3 separate regions of the Homo sapiens genome follow, and regions 1 and 2 are each linked to region 3. The links are contacts of gene promoters, found by promoter capture Hi-C in blood cells and fetal thymus (Javierre and others, 2016). All regions are on one chromosome and are shown on one strand. The core of a region is centred on a gene start or on the middle of the fragment in contact, and the rest is flanking DNA. Distances in the headings are between cores, read along the strand shown. Region 1 holds the start of NETO2 (neuropilin and tolloid like 2). Region 2 overlaps C16orf87 (chromosome 16 open reading frame 87). Region 3 holds the start of N4BP1 (NEDD4 binding protein 1).

Evidence for each region. Contacts are between HindIII fragments. The CHiCAGO score rates a contact against its expected background, and 5 or more counts as called.
Region 1: the fragment with the promoter of NETO2 here is called in contact with the fragment with the promoter of N4BP1 in region 3 in 1 of 17 cell types (total B cells); the score reaches 6.1 in total B cells.
Region 2: a fragment that was not itself captured here is called in contact with the fragment with the promoter of N4BP1 in region 3 in 1 of 17 cell types (total CD4 T cells); the score reaches 5.9 in total CD4 T cells.

Annotation. Positions count from the first base shown.
Region 1 is chr16:47,142,673-47,146,067 of GRCh38, reverse strand. It overlaps NETO2 (neuropilin and tolloid like 2), which reads left to right and starts at 2,123. Exons shown (of 9, transcript NM_018092.5): 1 at 2,123-2,489. The coding sequence starts at 2,456. ITFG1-AS1 (ITFG1 antisense RNA 1) reads right to left here and starts at 2,000. Exons shown (of 4, transcript NR_110904.1): 1 at 1,574-2,000. RefSeq lists silencers at 1,593-1,922, 1,983-2,822, 2,993-3,142. The HindIII fragment of the contact is 8,905 bases long and covers 1-3,395 here.
Region 2 is chr16:46,805,422-46,808,436 of GRCh38, reverse strand. All of the region lies in intron 3 of C16orf87 (chromosome 16 open reading frame 87), which reads left to right. Among named protein-coding and RNA genes, the nearest start is that of C16orf87, 24 kb to the left of the region's middle. The HindIII fragment of the contact is 163 bases long and covers 1,519-1,681 here.
Region 3 is chr16:48,608,143-48,611,627 of GRCh38, reverse strand. N4BP1 (NEDD4 binding protein 1) reads left to right here and starts at 1,448. Exons shown (of 7, transcript NM_153029.4): 1 at 1,448-1,853. The coding sequence starts at 1,656. It overlaps LOC124903687 (a long non-coding RNA gene), which reads right to left and starts at 1,318. Exons shown (of 2, transcript XR_007065063.1): 1 at 1,110-1,318; 2 at 415-973. RefSeq lists enhancers at 1,178-1,257, 1,268-1,317, 2,268-2,317 and a silencer at 1,358-1,957. The HindIII fragment of the contact is 6,560 bases long and covers 1-3,308 here.

The DNA of each region.
Region 1 (3,395 bases), core at 874-3,373, 1.5 Mb after region 3:
CTTTTATTACAACCTCAACTGCCAGATGAAATCTTCCCAGAACTCCATTACTGCACTATTAAAAGTAATCATTTACCTAACTAGCATTTGAGCACCTATCTCCATAATCAAAGCCCACCATGTCCAACCTCTTTATACCAAACACAACACTTGCCCCACGTTCCAGGCTCATCCTGCTCCCTGCCTGCTGAGCTCTTCTTCTGCCTCCTCTCCTCTCGCCACCCCAAGCATTTCCATGGTTTGTGTGTCACCTCCTTCAGGAAGTCTTCTCTGATGACATGACACGCAGATTTTTCCTTCAGTCAACAACTTCACATTAAGAAACTATTATGTTAATTTGAGAGCCCCTTCCTCTCAAATTTTTTTGGTTCACTGTTGTCTGTAACCTATACTTAATATTGTCTTCTTACTCTCCTATTCTACTAATATGCTACATCATTATTATTATTTGAGACGGAGTCTCGCTGTTGCCCAAGCTGGAGTGCAGTTCAAGCGATTCTCCTGCCTCAGCCTCCCTAGTAGCTGGGACTACAGGCGCGTGCCACCACGCCCAGCTAATTTTTGTATTTTTAGTAGAGATGGGGTTTCACCATGTCGGCCAGGCTGGTCTTAAACCTCTGACCTCGGGTGACCCGCCTGCCTCAGCCTCCCAAAGTTCTGGGATTACATGCGTGAGCCACCTTTTCATATCCGTGGGAAAAAGTTCTTAAATGTTTTATTTCCTAATTGGTTCTCGTGTGCGATCTTAACTGTAGTAGGTGGTTACCTTTAGGAACCCAAACTTACCCATCTTTTATGCCCCCATTCACAGCACATGGCAAAGGGTGAAACACCTCGATATTAATTGGTGTTAAGTATGTTTTTCCTTTGTAAATCTCATGAATTATTTATGCTTTTGTACCTTTCTTGAAGGAATACAAAGTGAGAGAGAAGAGCTTAACACCTGAAAAATGTTTCAGTTGCCTGACATTGTCTTTAGCTACAATTGGTTAGACAAACGTTTACAGAGTTCCTACTACACGCAGAGACAGGCATAAATATTCTATTATGGTAAGGCCTTGATCACGGTTGTTATCTCCAGCACCAATCATTGTCTTCTGCACATAATTAACACCCAATACGTATGTGTGGAGTGAAAAAAATGAATGCAGTCGGCCTGCCTGCAAGCAGCTGATATTTTAATGGTGTGAGGGTGAGGGAGATATAAAGGATGAACAAATAAATAAATGAGGAAGGTCATATCAGTGTGATAACCGCTGTGGAGAAAATAAAGCAGGATCATGAATACCACCAACAGCCAGGCAGTTGTTGGCAGACCTGGAGACTCCCATCAGCTGGCGAAGCTGCCCAGCGTAGTGGTTAGCTGCTAGGAGGGCAGCCCCGGGGGAGGTGCACAGCCCTGCCGCTCATTCGCTACGCGGCTCTGGACGAAGGGCTTCACCTCTCTGGCCTCGACTTTCCAATCCCCTAAAACCTACTTCATGAGGGGGAGTCTGAGGAGTTGGTACTAAAGTGCCTGTCAACCTGGCGGGCGCTAGGGAAACGCCGGCAGCGCCGCGGGTCGGGAACTCACCGGCGCGAAGGGCACGGAGAGCCTCGGGCTCCCTCTGCCGATGTCCGCGCTTCCCTGCCCAGGGTCGAGCAAGGCTGAGCTGGGCAAAGTTTTGACCTTGAATGGAGGTCTGGGGGACTAGGGACCGGCGCCCCTCTCTGTCTGCTAGGGCTGGCGGAGACCCGGCAGGCCGGCGAGGGTGCGGGGCCGAGGTGGGCGGCGCTTCCCGGGCGCCTCCGTCAGACGGGAGGCATCGAGGGCTCGGCCAGCTGCCCCGGGCGCCCTGCGCGGCGGCTGGGCACGGGCCGGTCACTGCCCCGGCGCCGGCCTCTCGGACGAGGCCGCCGCGCAGCCACGGCGAGAGGCACCCTCACTACCCCCGCGCCCAGCCGGCTCCCAGCCCTAACGGCAGCCGGCGGGGAGCGACGCCGTCCCACGGCGCGAGGCCGCGGCGGGCGCGCGAGGCGCGGCGCGGGGCGGGGCGGGGCGGGCACATGCGCACAGGCGGCGCAGCCGGCACGCGGCGCTCGCGCTCCCTCCTTAAATGAGCCTGGGCGCCCCGCGCCCGCCACTTCAGTGGATCCCGCGCCGGGGCCGCGGGCGGAGCTGCCTGCCGGTCCCGCGCCGCGCGTCCGCACTCCTCGGCCCTCGGGCGGTCGATGGGACGGGGCGCCGCGGAGCAGGAGGCGGCGCCCGTCGGGGTGCTCGGGCCGCGCGGGAGCCCACTGTGGGGCTCGGGCATGGCGGGCCGCAGGACCTGAGCTCTCCTCAGGGGAGCGGGGAGGCAGCTGCTGGCCGGCGATGGGGACGGAGTGGGGCCGTCGCCGCCGCGCCGAGCCGTGAGCGCCGAGCCACCGCCGCCGCTACCTCAGCCCTTCGCGAAGCGCCGGGCAGCTCGGGAACATGGCCCTGGAGCGGCTCTGCTCGGTCCTCAAAGGTAAGGACCGGGGCTGGGGCCACGGACGGCGCCCCCTGCGGGCCGAGGCTGGCGCGCCGCCCTGCCCGCGCCTCTGCGTCCCTTACCCGCGCCCGGGACCCGACGCGCCTCTTTGTCTGGCGGGGCTCGCGGCTACTCGGAGCGGACCGCGGGGCGCGAGCCCTGCCCGGCTCCGCCGGCTCTCCGGGCGCGCCGCTTCCGACCCCTGCGAGTCCGGCCGACGTTCGCGGGGCGCGTGTGGGAAGAGGGATCGGGTCGGGAAGGCGGCCAGGAGGCCCCTGGGCCCAGCAGGGCCCTCCGGGCTGCGCCCTCGCGCCGCTTCCGTAGAATTCCGCGCATCCCTTTGCAAAGTTGTGAGATTCCTGTCGTGGAGCGGAGGCCGCTCTTTCTCCAGATGTGATGGCAAAAAGTAATTCCACGAGAACAATAAAAGCCGCGGCCGTGACGTCGTGCAGTGGTTTTCGAATAGCCCCGCGGCGCCTGCACCTCGCGGCGGGGAACGGGGCCTGCTGGGCCAGCCGGGTCCCACCTGCTGCGGCCACGGAGGCTGCGGCACCACTGCGGGCTCCGGGGGCGGCGCGCGGGCGCCGCGGACCCGGCTTGTCCCGGCCCCCGGGGAGCGCTGCTGCTCGGGTGCTTCCCGGGACGCGGCGCTCCTCGCGCTCCGCCAGAGGTCTCAGAATTCCCCGCCGCTGGTGTTCGGTTCTTACTAATTTGTTGTACTGGGAATTAAAACAGTTGGCTTGTCCAGAGCACAGAGCTCTAAAACCTACTCCACCGGCTTTGCATTTCCCAGGAGGTGGTAATTTAGATGAAAATTTATATACATAGATAATTAGGATTGGGATACAAAGTTGCTCCTGAAACTCGGACTGAATAAATCGTCTTTTCAATTTCCAGAGGGAA
Region 2 (3,015 bases), core at 351-2,850, 1.8 Mb after region 3:
AATAAGACCATTCTACCAGTTTGCTATTTCTCTCTGCTTTATGTGCTTTTATTTGAATAAAGTTACTATTGCTAGAAAACAGCTTCACCAGTATAGCCATTCCTAGCTTTTATCAAAGTTAAAGGTGTCTTAGTATTGTATGGCTAAAGGAGTAAGGTTTATATCGGTTTTGACTGTATTCTAGGAAGGCTGTACTAAGGTACTCCATATTCCTTGGGTAATTTTACTGCTTTTCTCTTTCTATTATGCTCTTCCAGAGGGTTTGAGTTATTTGTTAAATTTGTATGTTTCTTTAACAATAGGGTGCAGAAAACCTATGCCGAGGACTCCTATTTTAGAAGGGAAACTAGGTAAAGAAAAGTCAGCAGAGAAAAAGGAAAAGAGAGAAATACTGCCTGGCTCAGAAAACAACATTCTTTTCAGTTGAAATAGAGGGAATGCAGCTGAAAGAAGAGAATGCTTCTGGTGGTGGGTGAGAGAAGATGAGAAAGCAGATAATGACCATCTTTAGCTGGGGAAATGAAGTCTATATACTTGTGGTAGAACTGTATATATGCAGGATTTCAGCTTTTATTTCATGATTACATGAAAAAAGAAGCATTTGTTTAGCTGTAAATATTTTTTAGGCATTTTCTGTTTATTACAGAAAAATTTTAAGAAAGCTATTTCTAGAGTAAGATATGCTTTTTTTTGTTTTTGATACAAATTGTAGGAAATTACTTAAATTAATTTTTGTAGCACAAACTGGAATCTTATGTAGACCATGAAGTCATTACACTTTTTCTGTAAAGAGCCAGATAGTAAATGTTCTAGGCTTTGTGGGCCATACTATCTCTGTCACAACTACTCAGCTCTGCCATTGTAGCTGGAAAGCAGCCATAAATCATGCATAAATGAATGGGCATGCCTGTGTTCCAGTAATACTTTATAAAGCAGGTGGTGGGCCACATTTGTTACTTGTACTATAGTTTGCCAATCTCTTTCTTTCTTTTCTTTCCTTGCTTTTTTTTTTTTCCTTCTGAGATAGCGTCTCACTCTGTTACCCAGGCTGGAGTGCAGTGGAGTGATCATGGCTTACTTCAGCCTCAAACTCCTGGGCTCAAGCGATCCTCCTGCCTCAGGTGCATGCCACCACACCAGGCTACTTTTTTTACTTTTAGTATAAATGAGGTCTCACTATGTTGCTCAGGCTGGTCTCAAACTCCTGGGCTCAAGGGATCCTTTCAGCTTGGCTTTCCAAAGTGCTGGGATTGCAGGCATGCATGAGCCACTGCACTCGGCCTAGTTTGCCAATCTTTGTTGTAAACCATTGTACTCTTAAATATAATGTGGACAAGAACTATTAGGTTGGTGCAGAAGTAATTGCGGTTTTACTTTTATACCAATCTAACATGAACTTTTGAAATGTCTGTGTTTTAGGATAGATTTCTTGGATATGCTTCTTAGTGCTAAATAGCTATTTAGTTGGTTTTTATTGATTCCTTGCTCTTAGAGCATTTGAAAATTTTGAAGCAAGCTTTAACTTTATTTTAACCATGAATTAAGGAAAACCTGACAATGTGTCTAAAAAACCTAACTTAAAAATGGACTTTTCTATCTAGTCAGATGAGAGATCCAAAGGGGGAAAAATGACTTTTCTATTTTGAAACAGAATAAGAAGGAAGAATGGAAAAGGAAAGCTTGTTAGACATCATCATAATAATATATCTTTATAAAGTCATAAAAACAAATCATTAAACAATTTTTGGTTAGTCTAATGTAAGTCTTCGTTTTATATATAAGGGTATTCTGGATATTATAATATAGAAGTGACATTTTGACTGATTAAAATATGTTAGGCAGTTCTGAACATCATATTAATGAACTTAAGAATGAATGGGTCAGGCGTGGTGGCTCACGCCTGTAATCCCAGCACTGTGGGAGGCCGAGGCTGGTGGATCATGAGGTCAAGAGATCAAGACCATCCTGGCCAACATGGTGAAACCCCGTCTCTACTAAAAATACAAAAAAAATTAGCCGGGCGTGGTGGTGCGTGCCTCTAGTCCCAGCTACTTGGGAGGCTGAGGCAGGAGAATCAGTTGAGCCCAGGAGGCGGAGGTTGCAGTGAGCTGAGATCGCGTCACTGTGCTCCAGCCTGGAGACAGAGCGAGACTCCGTCTCAAAAAAAAAAAAAAAAAAAAATGAATGTAGACTTCAAGCTGAAGATTGTGGATTGAAGAAACACATCTAGCTCTAAACTCCTTTGGGGAAATCTAAGAAAGAAACTGATTTTTATTACACAGTTACCTAAAAGTCAGGAATTTGTGTATCAGTTATGTCTGGAAGTAGAAGTGAAATTGAGGCTAAAAATGAGAGGATTGTTTGCAAGTCTTTTTATGAGTAGCCCACCAGGACTGTTTACCCTCTTATCCCCCAGGTTTATCCTTTGAAAAAGGTAAATAATACAGTCTTTGGTCTCAGGAACACCAGGTGTCTGTTGACGGCCAGGATACCATGTTAAGATCAGGAAGCCTAGGTGAAAATTGGACATAGTAAATGCTGAGTTCTTGAGTTTGGCTTATTAGCGTCCAGGTAAAAAAAGTAAAAAAGTTTGAACATATCTTCTCTAGAGAATCCGAAGGACCCAAGAGAAAAGGCCCCAAATAAAGATACTCTCATTAGAGATTCACAGAGAAGTGGCCTAATTGGATCATCCTAATCTGATGACTACAGTCAAGCTCCACGTATGTGTATGTTTCTAATCAGCTTCTTTGGTCACTCTCCTAAATATGAGCATATTGCCAAGAATTACCCAGATATCTGGAAGAAAGCATCTATTATAGTATGAAAGGCTAAGACCAAATCAACAGGAGAGAAAAAATAACTTGGAAAAAAGCAAGATTTTGCAGGGAAAAGAAAAACTATAAACTACTATTAATATCTTTAGCAAAAGAAGCAATTGTAATTGTAAAATGAACAAGGTGATATTTAAAAGGAAATTGCAGAGGTCAAAAAGCCAGTTGGAAAATGAACTTT
Region 3 (3,485 bases), core at 199-2,698:
CCTCTTTTTCCTCTAGCAGGGATGTACACAGATGGCACAGACTCCTGGGCCCACAAGTTCACTGTGGTTGCATAATCCACACAAAGATTTTCCCTGAAAATTAGGCCTTAAATATATTGCTTAAGTTAGCAATAATAATGTTCAGTGAGCACTTACAGTGTTGGGTGCTGTATTAATATTCACAATAGGAAGTACTATTATTATCTACATTTTATAGATGAAAAATTAAAACAGAGAGAGGTAATATTCCCAGAGCCCCTATCTACTATAGCCACAATATTTAGCTGAAGGAAAGGAATCCAACACTTTATCTTCCACAATCTGTTTTCATGGACTCAGAGAATATAAAGGCCTGGAAAAGGCCTTAGAGATAACTGAGTGTACTCTTTTATTTTACAGATCAGAAAACAGACCTGGAGAGGGGTTAGGGTTTATTTGCTCCAGTCCCAGGGAAGATCATGAGTGAGCCCCCAAACTCCCACTTTTCGGGCTTCTCCCATAACATATCCCCTTTCTTCCCTCACAGAAGAAATCACTCTCCTGAATTTATCTTTTTTTTTTTTTTTGAGACGGAGTTTCGCTCTTCTTGCCCAGGCTGGAGTGCAATGGCGCAATCTCGGCTCACCGCACGCAACCTCTGCCTCCAGGGTTCAAGCGATTCTCCTGCCTCAGCCTCCCTAGTAGCTGGGATTACAGGCATGTGCCACCACGCCGCGCTAATTTTTTTTTTTTTTTTTTTTTTTTTTTTTTTTTTTTTTTTTTTTTTTAGCAGAGACGGGGGTTTCTCCATTTTGGTCAGGCTGGTCTCGAACTCCGGACCTCGAGTGATCCACCCGCCTCTGCCCCCACAGACTGCTGGGATTACAGGCGTGAGCCACCGCGCCCGGCCTTCTTGAATTTATCTTAATCATTTTTTTGATTTTCAATTCTCCGTAAGTATGCCCATTTTCTTCTCTTCTTGCTACCATTTTTACTGAAAGAAATAAAAAGGGAAAGAGAAAAAAGTGAGAAGGGCAGCTAAGAAGGTAAAAGGGTAGGGAGGAAGGGAAGAAACAGAGAAAGAAAAGTCCCGTCTGCCTGTGGATTAACGTGAAACTGAATAACTCAACTGCTAGAATCCTGGTTTGAGCGTCAAGATGTCTGAGGTCAAGTCCAATCCCTGTGACACTCTCAGTCTCGCCTCCTGGCAATTAAGTTTCCCCAACTATAAACCCATATATCTACATCCACCAGATCCCGCGAAAGCGGTTTCCCCTCATCAAAGAAGTCCGCCCAGGCCTCCAAAACCATCCCTTTATTCTCAACCAACATGGCGACTGAGGGTGACGTCAACTTCCGTCGCCTTCACCCTACTCCCTTCCCCTAGGGGGCGGCGAGCCTCAATGACGGCTGCGGCCGGGGCGCATGCGCGGCGGCGGGGCCCGGCCCGCGGCGGCGGCAAAGGGGCGGAGGGGTTCGCTGCCAGCAATTGCCAAGCTGCTGCGGTCGTGGCGGGATGGTATAGCCGGGCCTGAGGGCGGGCGGCGGGGCGCGGGCGGGGGCGAGGCGGCCGGGAAGGGCCGACGCCGCCTGACTGGCTTGGGAGCAGCGGCAGCAAGCTGAGGGGGCGTCGCCGCCGCCGGCCCCCGGCGCCGCCGCGGGAGGCCGCGCCCGCCATGGCGGCCCGGGCGGTGCTGGACGAGTTCACTGCGCCAGCTGAGAAGGCGGAGCTGCTGGAGCAGAGCCGCGGCCGTATCGAGGGCCTGTTTGGCGTGAGCCTAGCCGTGCTCGGCGCGCTAGGGGCTGAGGAGCCGCTGCCCGCGCGCATCTGGCTGCAGCTCTGCGGGGCGCAGGAGGCGGTGCACAGCGCCAAGGTGAGTCCGGCCGCCGCCCCCGCGCGCCCGCGGCCTCGATCGGTCCGGGTCTCCGGGCTCCCGCTCCTCCCCGCCCCCGCCGTCCGCCGCGATGCGCCTGGGTTGGGAACGCAGTCTCGGGAGCCAGCGAACGTGCCTTTTCGGCTCGCGAGCCATGTGACCTTGGATAGCGGCTTGATCCCCGGAGCCTCAGTTTCCCCATTTGTAAAGTGGCGCTGACGAAAGTACCTACCTCAGAGGGCTGTCGCGAGGATGAAAGTGGGGGATGTGTATGAAGCGCAGGCACAGCGTGTGGCACGGATCGGGTGCGCTGCGCATGTCGCCTGTTGTTGTCAGTTCCCCGGCCCCCAGGATGGTACGCAAGGCCTGTTGCTGGGCCCGCAGCCTCGTCCACCACCTAAGCCTTTATCCCCCAGTCCCGGGCCTCCACTACTGCAGTTCTGAGCCTTTTTGGGATCTCAGTTCCTCTTGAGAATCGGAAAAAAACTATTAATAGTAATAAAACGCTCGGAGAATGTCAGAAAGAAAGGATTTATGTTTACCTATTTTTTTCTATTTGAGACAGGGTCTCACTCTGTCACCCACAGTGGAGTGCAGTGTGGCGCGGTCTCAGTTCACTGCAGCCTCGACTTCCCGGGCTCAAGTGATCCTCCCACCTCAGCCTCCCGAGTAGCTAGTACTATAGGAGCGCGCCACCACGCCCGGCTCATTTTTTTTTTTTTTTTTGGTAGGGGATTTCACTATGTTGCCCGGGCAGGTCTCGAACTCTTGGACTCAAGTCATCCTCCCATCTCGGTCACCCAAAGTGCTGGGACTACACGCGGGAGCCACCCCGGCCGGATATTTAATATGTTAACAAAAAATAGCGTTATTCTTTGTATTGATATTACCTACAACTAACATTTACATAACGCTTAAGAACATCACAGGTTGCTTCAGAAGGAATGTGCAGCCCTTATGGCTTCTAATAAGGTAGATTTTATCCTCCCCACCACCACCCCGCCTTTTTTTTTTTTTTTAATTAACAGCTGGGGAAACTGAAACTCAAAGTGGTGACTCACCTTCTGCCTAAATCAGCATTTCAGACCTCTTCAGCACCTCTATCTACTTCCCCCCCTTTCCAAACCAAAAAGCAACACAGTATGTTGCTCCTCCTAGGTAACCAAGTTTCTCTAGGTTTTTCCATCTCCTAAGTAGGGCAGCAGGATTCAGACCTAGGGAGTTTGTTTCCAGAGCCTTCGTTCTTGATACTTGCCTCTCATATGATGAGCCCTGTCTGCGGGGTGGGCAGGAAGGGCCCTCTTTTTGCATCCTGCTTTGTCAAGTAATGTCAGTGTCCTTGAATCTGAGTAGTCGTATCTCCTGATGTTCTTAGATTTAACAAAAAATCGTGAGTGTTTGCATTTCACATCCTTAAAGGAGACGGGGCACTCAGCTGTGTAGTTCTTCAAAGCTTAACTTAAAACATTGTAGGCCGGGCGCGGTGGCTCACGCCTGTAATCCTAGCACTTTGGGAGGCCGAGGTGGAAGGATCACGAGATCAGGAGATTGAGACTGTCCTGTGTCACACGGTGAAAACCGTGTTCTTGAGAATCGGAAAAAAACCATTAATAGTAATAAAACGCTCGGAGA